Regions from separate parts of the Homo sapiens genome. Here region 2 is linked to region 1. The links are contacts of gene promoters, found by promoter capture Hi-C in blood cells and fetal thymus (Javierre and others, 2016). All regions are on one chromosome and are shown on one strand. Each heading gives the region's core, a stretch centred on a gene start or on the middle of the fragment in contact. The rest is flanking DNA. Distances are from core to core; before and after follow the strand shown. Region 1 holds the start of TPPP2 (tubulin polymerization promoting protein family member 2). Region 2 holds the start of RNASE3 (ribonuclease A family member 3).

What was found. The method cuts DNA at HindIII sites, captures the fragments that hold promoters and counts their contacts. A CHiCAGO score of 5 or more calls a contact.
Region 2: a contact is called between the fragment with the promoter of RNASE3 here and the fragment with the promoter of TPPP2 in region 1, in 8 of 17 cell types (erythroblasts, M1 macrophages, monocytes and 5 more). The highest score is 15.0, in erythroblasts.

Annotation. Positions count from the first base shown.
Region 1 is chr14:21,027,502-21,032,188 of GRCh38, reverse strand. It overlaps TPPP2 (tubulin polymerization promoting protein family member 2), which reads right to left and starts at 1,972. Exons shown (of 4, transcript NM_173846.5): 1 at 1,885-1,972; 2 at 1,435-1,676; 3 at 1,024-1,177; 4 at 1-297. The coding sequence starts at 1,607. The coding sequence ends at 112. It also overlaps a transcript of NDRG2 not described here. The HindIII fragment of the contact is 5,962 bases long and covers 1-2,166 here.
Region 2 is chr14:20,888,308-20,893,222 of GRCh38, reverse strand. It overlaps RNASE3 (ribonuclease A family member 3), which reads right to left and starts at 1,838. Exons shown (of 2, transcript NM_002935.3): 1 at 1,772-1,838; 2 at 875-1,541. The coding sequence starts at 1,536. The coding sequence ends at 1,054. All of the region lies in intron 1 of LOC100507513 (a long non-coding RNA gene), which reads left to right. The HindIII fragment of the contact is 4,045 bases long and covers 1-1,872 here.

The sequences.
Region 1 (4,687 bases), core at 723-3,222:
TCACAGACAGAGATTTTGGCTGCTGCACACACAGATGTTTATTGTTTTCCAAGCTCCCTGGTGTTAAACATGCAGGGTCAGGGGGCTAGCAGGCTGAGATGAAGCTCCTCTCTACTTGGTCTTCTTATCGTAGGTGCCAGAACCCTTGTAACCACTCACATAGCCTGTGTTGTCAGTCATCTCTTCCCGTCCCGCAATGCCCTTGCCCTTGCCACTCTCATCAAAGCGCTCCTTGTGGGTGCCGGTGTACTTGCTGGTGTCTGTCAAACGGTCCACTGCACCCACTGTTGTTGCTTTCTGCAAGCCAGGGATGGATTTGAGCTCTCTTCCTTTCCTTACGCTGTCATATCCCTTCCCCAAAGATGGCCCGAGATACTTAGAACAAGTGCTTGGAGCTCTTGCTCTGCCACTGGCATGGGGTGCTGCTTTCTTAGGGCCCAGATACAGCTGTGGGCAGGTACTCTGGTAAGAGCCGTTCACTCATGGGGGAGGAGGAGTGTGGTGTGGGAATGAGTGTGGCGTGTGCAGAGGGAGGGTAGGTTTTTTGTTTCCAGAGGAGTTATTCTGACTAGGCTGCTGCCTGAGGACTTCACTCCCACTCCCCGACTCAATATCCACTGTAGAAAGAGCTTTTAGTTCAGACAGGACAATTAAAAAAGGGAGTAGGTGAGAGGCAGGAGGCCTGAGATTAAACCCTAAATAAGAATTGGAAGAGGAGTGGGCATCAGGTACCAAATTCTCTACACTAATGTCCTCCAAAAGCTACCAAGCCCTAATTGCCTGGCTCAGATACTAGACACTTGGAAATTAGTCTAAATCTACTATTAAAATAGCCATGGACCTTGGGCAAGTCACTTCCCTTCTCTGGGCCACATTTTCCTGACTTCTGGAATGTCTAGATGATCTCTAAAGTCTGTTTCGGCCCTGTCTCTACAGTCACACAGTTGGCAGGGTTAGGGAGGGTAGACTGGAACAATGGGGATTTAGGGAAGTAGGGTCAAGGGGATGAAGGCTGTCACTCACAGTAGCGCCAGTGGTGGCTGGGTCTTTGCCCTCCATGAGTCCATAAATGTTCTCCAGGACTTCATCTGGACTCTTCCCTTTGAAGCGCTTCTGGCCCAGTTCCTTCACTGCCTCTTTGAACTGTTGAAACGTGATGGTTCGGGCGTTCTTGGCCCTGGTCAGTTAGACAGAAATCCAGAAACTTTGGAGCATGAATGCATTACCTTCCAAGGTCCAACTCTTGCCTCACTCAGATTTGGCCTCTTTTGTCCTATCAATCAGTGAGTGTCTCGAAGACAAAGGATAGCACAGCGCCAGGTACCCTGTGGTGCTTGGTAGGCCCACTGCAAATGTTCCACCACGTGAACCCTTCCGTGGCCAACTACCTCGCAGGTTCTTCTCACCCCCACCTCCATATTTTTGGCTCCTCACTTGACTTTGCTGAACACGATGTCCACGTCCGTGGAGGTGACTGTCTTGCCATCCATGATGCCACAGTCTTTGCACAGCTTGGAGAAGTTCTTGTTGTTCATTTCAGTGCCACTGCTTGATGATTCTCCAAACGCAGCAAACCGATGGAATGTTTTTTCTGCCTCTGATGCCATGGTCAGCTAGAGGTCGGGGAGGGCAGTCGTGGGAGACACTTGGGGGTGAAGGAGAAGGGGGAGGGAGGACTGTGGAGTAATGAGGATGAGTGTTATGGTAAAATCAGTCAGCAACAGGAACAGCTCCCCTCTTCCCTGTTGCTCTCTCCTTTCTCCCTCCCAGCTCCCATTGCACCTACGCAACTACAGCATGAGTCTCCCATTCCCAGCATTGGAGATACCAGTGTGGATCCTACCTACTGAATGATCCTCTCTTTCCCCTACCTCTTTTATGTACCTTAGAGTACCCGGATGGTGGTCTGACCCTTCCCGGCCTTTGTATTTAAGTGTGTGCAGATATGTGGGAGCCGGTTGGCTGTGGCAATGAGGAGACAGAGGGAGGAGAGGGAAGATTCTATGACCTCAGCAGTGGTTATGTGACATCACTTCTGGCCCCAGCTACAGCCATTGCCTTCAAAGGAGGGGGCTTTTGGTCTCCCTACCTTGCATGCCGAATTGAGCAAACTGCCAACTTTCTGACCTTTTCAGATGATCACATTTCCATCATTTCAGCCAAGCTTACCCATCCTCTGGGTCCTAGTCAAATTGCCTTATGCTCTGCCCCACAACAGAAGCTGAGGCGAGCCCAGGGAAGGTGTTGTAGTCTGTTTGGGCTGCTAGAACAAAATATCAAACTGGGTGGCTTATAAACAACAGACATTTATTTCTCAGAGCTCTGAAGGCTGAGAAGTCTAAGATCAAGGTGCTGGCAGATTCAGTGTTTGGTGAGGGCTGCTTTCCGGTCCATAGATGGCACCTTCTTGCTGTGTCCTCACATGGTAGAAGGGGTGAATGAGTTCCCTTGGGCCTATTTATAAGGGTATGAATCCCATTCAGAAAGGCTCTGCCCTCATAAAACTTAATCACCCCCCAAAATGCCCCATCTCCTAATACCATGACTTTGGGAGTTAGGATTTTATTTTATTTATTTGCGTATTTATTTTGAGATGGAGTCTCGCTGTCTGTTGCCCAGGCTGAAATGCAGTGGCATGATCCTGGGGCACTGCAACCTCCAGTCCCAGGATTCAAGCGACTCTCATGCCTCAGCCTCCCCAGTAGCTGGGATTAGCCCAGCCACTATGCCTGGCTAATTTTTGCATTTTTAGTAGAGACGGGGTTTTGCCATGTTGGCCAGGCTGGTTTCGAACTCCTGACCTCAAGTGATCCACCTGCCTCAGCCTCCCAAAGTGCTGGGATTACAGGTGTGACCCACTGCGTCCAGCCGGGAGTTAGGATTTTAATATATGAATCTGTGGACAACATAAACATTCAGACCACAGCAGTTAATGAAAACGGATTAATGAAAACAGGCTGTCATGTTTTCTAGTCTCCAGGCTCAAGTGTAGCATGGAGAATCCCACTGGCTTTAAAAGGCCAGTCGCAATAGAAACATTAAATAGCTTCCAGTGTTGGGCCCAGCAAGCCTTGGAGTATAACAGATGTGGACAGGTCAGGATAAAACTGGGATAGACTGAGGGTGAGGCTCAGATTCTGAAAATCTTCAGATAAGTTTCTATGCAGGTCAAAGATGTTCCTCAGGGTTTTCTCTCTTCGGCCTTTTCTCTGGCCAGAAGCACTACAGATAGATGAACCTCACGGATCCTAAAACAGAGCAACGAGACTGGTGACTTTCCTCCTTTTCCCATCTAATAATGCCACCACTTTCTATTTTTTTTCTTTGTCTTACAAATCTATGCCTTTCTTTCCATTCCTATTGCTTCCACCCTTATTCAAGTTCTTATCATCTCATAGTTGGATGACTACTCTGGTTTCTAAATGATCTCTTTTCTAAATCTAATTCTTCACTCCCACCCACCCATAATCCATCTCTATTACCTCCTCCCCATCAGATTAATTTTCACAAAACAGTATTTTTTATTACTCCTGCTCAAGAATATTCTGTGGCTCAAGATATACTATAGCTTCTCATTGCTAAATCTTTTTGCTTAGCATTCAAGGACCTATACAACTAACTAGGCCCCAATCTACCCTACCAAACATCACCCACCTCTCATCAACATTATTCTTGGGCAGGGCACAGTGGCTCATGCCTATAATTCCAGCACTTTGGGAGGCCAACAAAGTGAGACCTTGTCTCTAGATAAATAAATAATAATAAAAAAATTAGTTGGGAGTGGTGGCATGCACCTGTAGTCCCAGCTACTGAGGAGGCTGAAGTGGGAGGATTGCTTGAGCCCGGGAGTTTGGGGCTGCAGTGAACTAGGATTGTGTCAGCGCACTCCCACCTGGCTGACAGAGAGACCCCATCTCAAAAACAAAACAAAACAAAACAAAACAAAAAGAACCCCAAGAAACAAAAAACCTAAGAACCAGATTATTCTGCAGCTGGGGTCATATGGCCTAATTGCTATACACTTGACAGGCTACTTGGGAGTGGAAGGAGCATAGTCCCTGGAGTGGAATGGACCGGGGTGGGGAAATGAATCCTAGATATGTCATTTACTAGCTGAGTGGACTTGGGCAACTCACTAAACATTTCTGAGTTTCAATTTTCTCATCTGTACAGTGAGGACGATAACACTAACCTTACGGTATTAGGGGATAATACATGGGAAGCTACTATTCAGTTCTCCAAAGTAACCTGAATGTTTCTGCCTCCAAACTGTCCTTCATGCTCTCTCTGTGCCTGGATAGAATGCCCCTCACTCCCACTCAAGTATTCCATGGTTGCACTTCTCATTTGGTGGTTCATCCTAGGAACAAAGCCCTTTTCCTTCTCTGAATTATAGTAAGATAATGATTTCTAGACTGTGGGCCACAGCCTCCTGGCGTGAGGATTTCTGAAATCTTGCAAAGGGCCCTAGAATCTGTATGTATAAAGAGTGAGTGTGAACTGAGTAAATAATATGCCTTGCATGTGTAGGTATTACCGCATTTACAGATGTTGTGACAGAAACTTACTTCAAAGTATTGATGAATTCATAGTTTGCATTTTCTCCATCAGGGGATACTATACCTATTATGTGGGGTTGGAAATCTCTAATCTCCCACTTGAGAAGGGTGGGAAACTACTGCTATAG
Region 2 (4,915 bases), core at 589-3,088, 140 kb after region 1:
AACCTTTGACTCGCCATTGGGAACATCTATGGAGGGCAGAATGGGCAGGAGCCAACTCACCTTCATGAGTGCTCCCACTTCCTCCTCCTCCTCCTCCCCCTTCTCCTTCCCACGTGACCAGCGGCTCCCCATCTCCAGGACATGGAACTTTTGGGAAAGATGTCCACCTCTCCTCCAGTCAGCATTACAATCTGTCCTTACTGCTGTCGGAACAATTTATCTTATTGCACATTTGACTCAAACCCTGGTTCCACCTCTATTACGATTGCTAATAGCTGGAGACTTGATGTGCCCATTTAAAAGAAATATCCCTGAGGCTAAACTTTTCTTTATCTTGGTTTCACCTTATTTATAGCATTCTTGACTTTTTCTACTTTCTTCTTTTCTATTTTCTATCATAACGTTCAATTCTATCAAAATTTATCATTCATAAATCATAATGAAGCACGTGCATTTTCAGCTGATTCACTGCAGCTCTTTTTTTCTTGGGATAGAAATCATGTCAATAAAAACCATAGTCGGACCATAAAGCATCAAATGGGACCTCAATATCAAATTGGGCTCAATTCTGGAATACAACTAAAACAAGTGGAGATCTATACACAAGTTATAGGTTGGTGTTGGGGGAGGAGTCAGTGGATGGAAAATTGCTTAGAGGAGATATTAAGGCTAGGGAGACCAATGCTAAGTTGACTCAATTGGATTTTTTTTTAAGGCAGGCCTGGAATCAGGTATCACATGAAGGATGATGGGGGAATTAAGGAATTTGGTCAGATATTGAGGGGGAGAGATTCATGATAAACCCAAATCTCTAGAGCAGATTGTCACTAAATGACAGCAGAGCGGCCGAGGAAGACACACAGACACTTCCAGATGAATTTGCAAAGCAGTTTATTGCAGGGTTCACAAGGGACTTCAGCTCAGGAAAGCTGAAGGGGTATGGAGACTGATGAGGACAGTTGCTGATACCCAGAGTACATGGAGGGATGGGATCTTGGCTATGATTGAGGAGCTTGGCAGATGAGTGATGATGAGGACTGCTGATACAGGAGCTTAGATGGTGGTATCCAGGTGAACTGGAACCACAGGATACCGTGGAGAATCCCGTGGATCTCTGTTGTCACATGCAACTACATAGAACCTCCTTCCTGGTCTGTCTGCATACGTGCAGTTTGAAATATTCTGTGCACCTGGATTTATGAGGTCACAGTGGAGTAAAGGCACCCGGAATCTACTCCGATGACAATTGTTGAGAGTTCTGTTATGAGGGCAGCGTATACTTTGGTTACCACAAACATTAACTACATTAGCAAAAGTTGTACGAAGAAAAGTATTTTGGTTTTTGCAACGCCATCGATAATTGTTAATTGCCCGCATTGCAATGGTGCATCGAGGGGGGTTCAGACTGATGTGCTGGATGGCAAACCACTGAGCCCTCGTAAACTGTGGGGGTCTGGCATGGAGTGAGCCCTCCACACCCATAAGCCCCAACAGAAGAAGCAGACAAATTTGGGAAGTGAACAGTTTTGGAACCATGTTTCCTGTAAGAAAAGAAGAGAAGTAACTACTCCCCGATCCGGTCTCGGTTATGACACACTCTATAGTGTCTCAACCCACAGGCCCCTCTGCTGCCACTCTGGGGTCGCATTTCCTTTTCTTCCTGTCCCCAAAGTGTGCCACATCTCCTAAGCACTAACTTCAGCTCACCTCTCCCTCAGGTGCTGCCCTGTCGCTGCCCCTCCTGTCCCAGCTCTGGGGATTGTTGACTTACCCAGTCTCTGAGCTGTGGCTCCTGTGAGAACTGATCCAGCTGGTTGTTCTGGGGTTCAGGGGCAGCTGGTCTCCCCTACTTGGAACTGTTTAAATAAAGCTTCCCTTGGTGGGTCTGGCCATGCAGAAACCCACAGATTGACACATGGTCCACTTGTGCAATCATCCTTTTTATTTGATGACTTGGCTGAGCAACGGATACCCAAGGACAGCCCTGCTGCTCTTTCTGCTATACGGACTCTAATTCCAAGTCATCCTGTGTTAGACAGAGTTTTGCCGGTGGGATCTGGACTCTGGGTGAAAACTATACGCTGCCGGCAGAATGACCACAGATTTTATAACTGTCCTCTGGCAGGCCCCTAAATGACTAAATGACACGAAGGCAGGCATAGTAGTTAGGAGAAATAGAGCCACAGAGGGCTGTTTGCCCAGGAGAAACCCAGCTTCCCTTCCATTTTTAGTAATATCCTTGGTTCTCTCTCACATAAATGCTCTCCATCTCATCCACCACTCTTGCTGGAAACTTGAGCTATTAATTTCTTGGGGCACAAGATTCTGTAGATAATTAAAACAATCTGCTCCATACAATTGAGGAATTTTTTTCTTTACTCCTCTTGCATTGGATCCACTTTCTCTTAAGTCTTGCCCTGATTATTGATTCCACTTTGTGTAAAGTTACATAACCTAAAAACACACCGAGGACAGTTGTAAAATCTGGCAGAGGATGAATGAACATTTGGTGTCATGAAAGATTCCAACCTAGCACTCGGTATTCCTGTGATCTTTTCAGCCTATGGTATTTTCTACAAAACAGTGTGTTCTGGGGTTGTCATTCATCTTCCTGGTAAGTTTCATTTTGTGATATTAACAAGAATATGGTTCTGTATTTACAAATGAACATTTAAGGACAGAGCACTGTATTCCTGAAAGTATAGAGGTCAAGTGTACAGTTTGATACACAAAGCATACATTTATTCTTGGCCCTCAGAGAAACACAGGAAAGTACTTGTAGACATATAATTGTATTACAGTGTGATAGAGGTAATAGCATTTGTGTGAACATGGTGTCATAGGGACACTGCTGGTGAAGGAAATCACTTGGCTTGAGAAATAAGGAAAACTTCAAAAAAAAGTTTATTTCAGCAGGTCCTAAAGGATAAGCAGGGGATTTTCAGGGGATTTAGAGAAGAGATGAGCATTCTGGGCACAGGGGATGATGTGGGGAAATTGTACAGAGGTGAGAAGTGAATTGCAAAGGTAAGGCCTGGGTACTAACAGATGTTAAATCTGGTCTAGCTTTGAGATTAGAAAATGGAAAGTAGACCCTTAAATGATATAATATACCTTCCAACAGTTAATCTGCCTAATTTTTACTACCGTCCAATTTTCCTGTCATTTAGAAATGCAATAATTTTATCACTGGGGTCCTTAGGTAAATGTGGACACAATGGTGACCTGGTGAGGACTCAATGCGCAGCTAATATTGCTCTGCCTTGAAGTCCTGTTCTGGCCGACATTCATTAGCAGCTTTATCATGAGGCAAGTTTATTTTTTCATGTATATTGTGTGGAGATCATTTTTGTAGGTGATGAGAATGTAAAGGTGAATGATACGTAGAGTATCCCCTCTGTGATGCTGACAGCCACACTGGCTAGAAACATTTGCACTTAAGTGTCTATAGTATGAGGCAAAAGACATAGACTGCAGCCCCAGGGCAGGTACTTGGCTAAACAGTGCTTCTTTTCAGCATACACAGTGCTATTTATGATGTTTGGTTTGGAAGATAAAGTTTGACATTGGAATAGTTCACTAAAAGTTTTCATTACTGTCTTATCTTTAAAAATCACATGATGGTGGTTGGTGCACCATTGGTGTTGTATCAATTAGAGCTGAGTAACAGCTGCGTCTGTGGAAGGGGCTCTAGCTCAGGGCTGTTCTCTGACTCCACTCTCCCTCCTGACTTTTATCCTATCTGTTCAGTGATGACACCTGCCTGGCTCCTGAAGACATCTGTGCTTATGACATATCAGACTTATTGAAGTGTCTTAAGCAGACCATAACCTGCCCAATTTGCAACCATATTCATCCTTTAAAATTGTGGAGTTTTTTGTTTTTTGTTTTTTTTTGAGACGGAGTCTTGCTCTTGTCACCCAGGCTGGACTGCAGTGGCGTGATCTCACTGCAACCTCCACCTCCGCCTCCCAAGTTCAAGTGATTCTCCTGCCTCAGCCTCCTGAGTAGCTGGGATTACAGGCGCTCGACACAATGCCCGCCTAATTTTTGTATTTTTAGTAGAGACGGGGTTTCACCATGTTGGCCAGGCTGGTCTCAAACTCCTGACCTCAGGTAATGCGCCCACCTCGGCCTTCCAAAGTGATGGGATTACAAGTATGAGCCACTGCTCCCAGCCATAAAAATTGCATTCAGAACATGCTCATAAGGTTTTTCTGATTGTCCCTTGTGTAGATTTCCTGCGTACATTTCCAACTACCTTCATTTGCCAGCAGAAGTAGTACAAATGATCTACTTTGATATTTATGACCTTTGAGAGAAGATGTTTTATATGAAGCAGGAATAAAGTATAAGTCAACATTAAAGAAAATTATCTGTTATGATCTCTGTAATCGAAACAAAATTCTCTGTAACTTCAGCATGATTTTGTCTTGAACAGACACAAGGCACTTCACCCGGGCTCTTTATTTTATTAGCATAACTTGTCTTGCAGCCTAATTTAACGACACATTTTCAGACCTGATCCACACTTCCAATGAGAGGAATAGTCAGAATTACGCCCTAGTGTTAAGTCATTTTTTGGAAACCGATGAACATTGTAAAATATTATCCCAGACAAAGACTTCTGCATTTGTGGTAAAAACCACTGTTGAGTACACTGCATTGATCAATGTCTTTTTTGCATAGCATTTATGTGCAAAAATATAATGTTCAATGCTTGCAATTTCTTCAGCCCCAGGGTACCCTTGCAATATTTGCTCTTAACCTGCTGACAGGGAGGTACCAAACCATCGATACCTTCCTGCACACAGATTTCCCTAATGCAGCAGTGGCTATCTATGGGAAAGACAATGCACACTATTTACTAGGTTGGTGCAAAAGTAATTGCGATTTTTGCCATTAAAAGTAATAC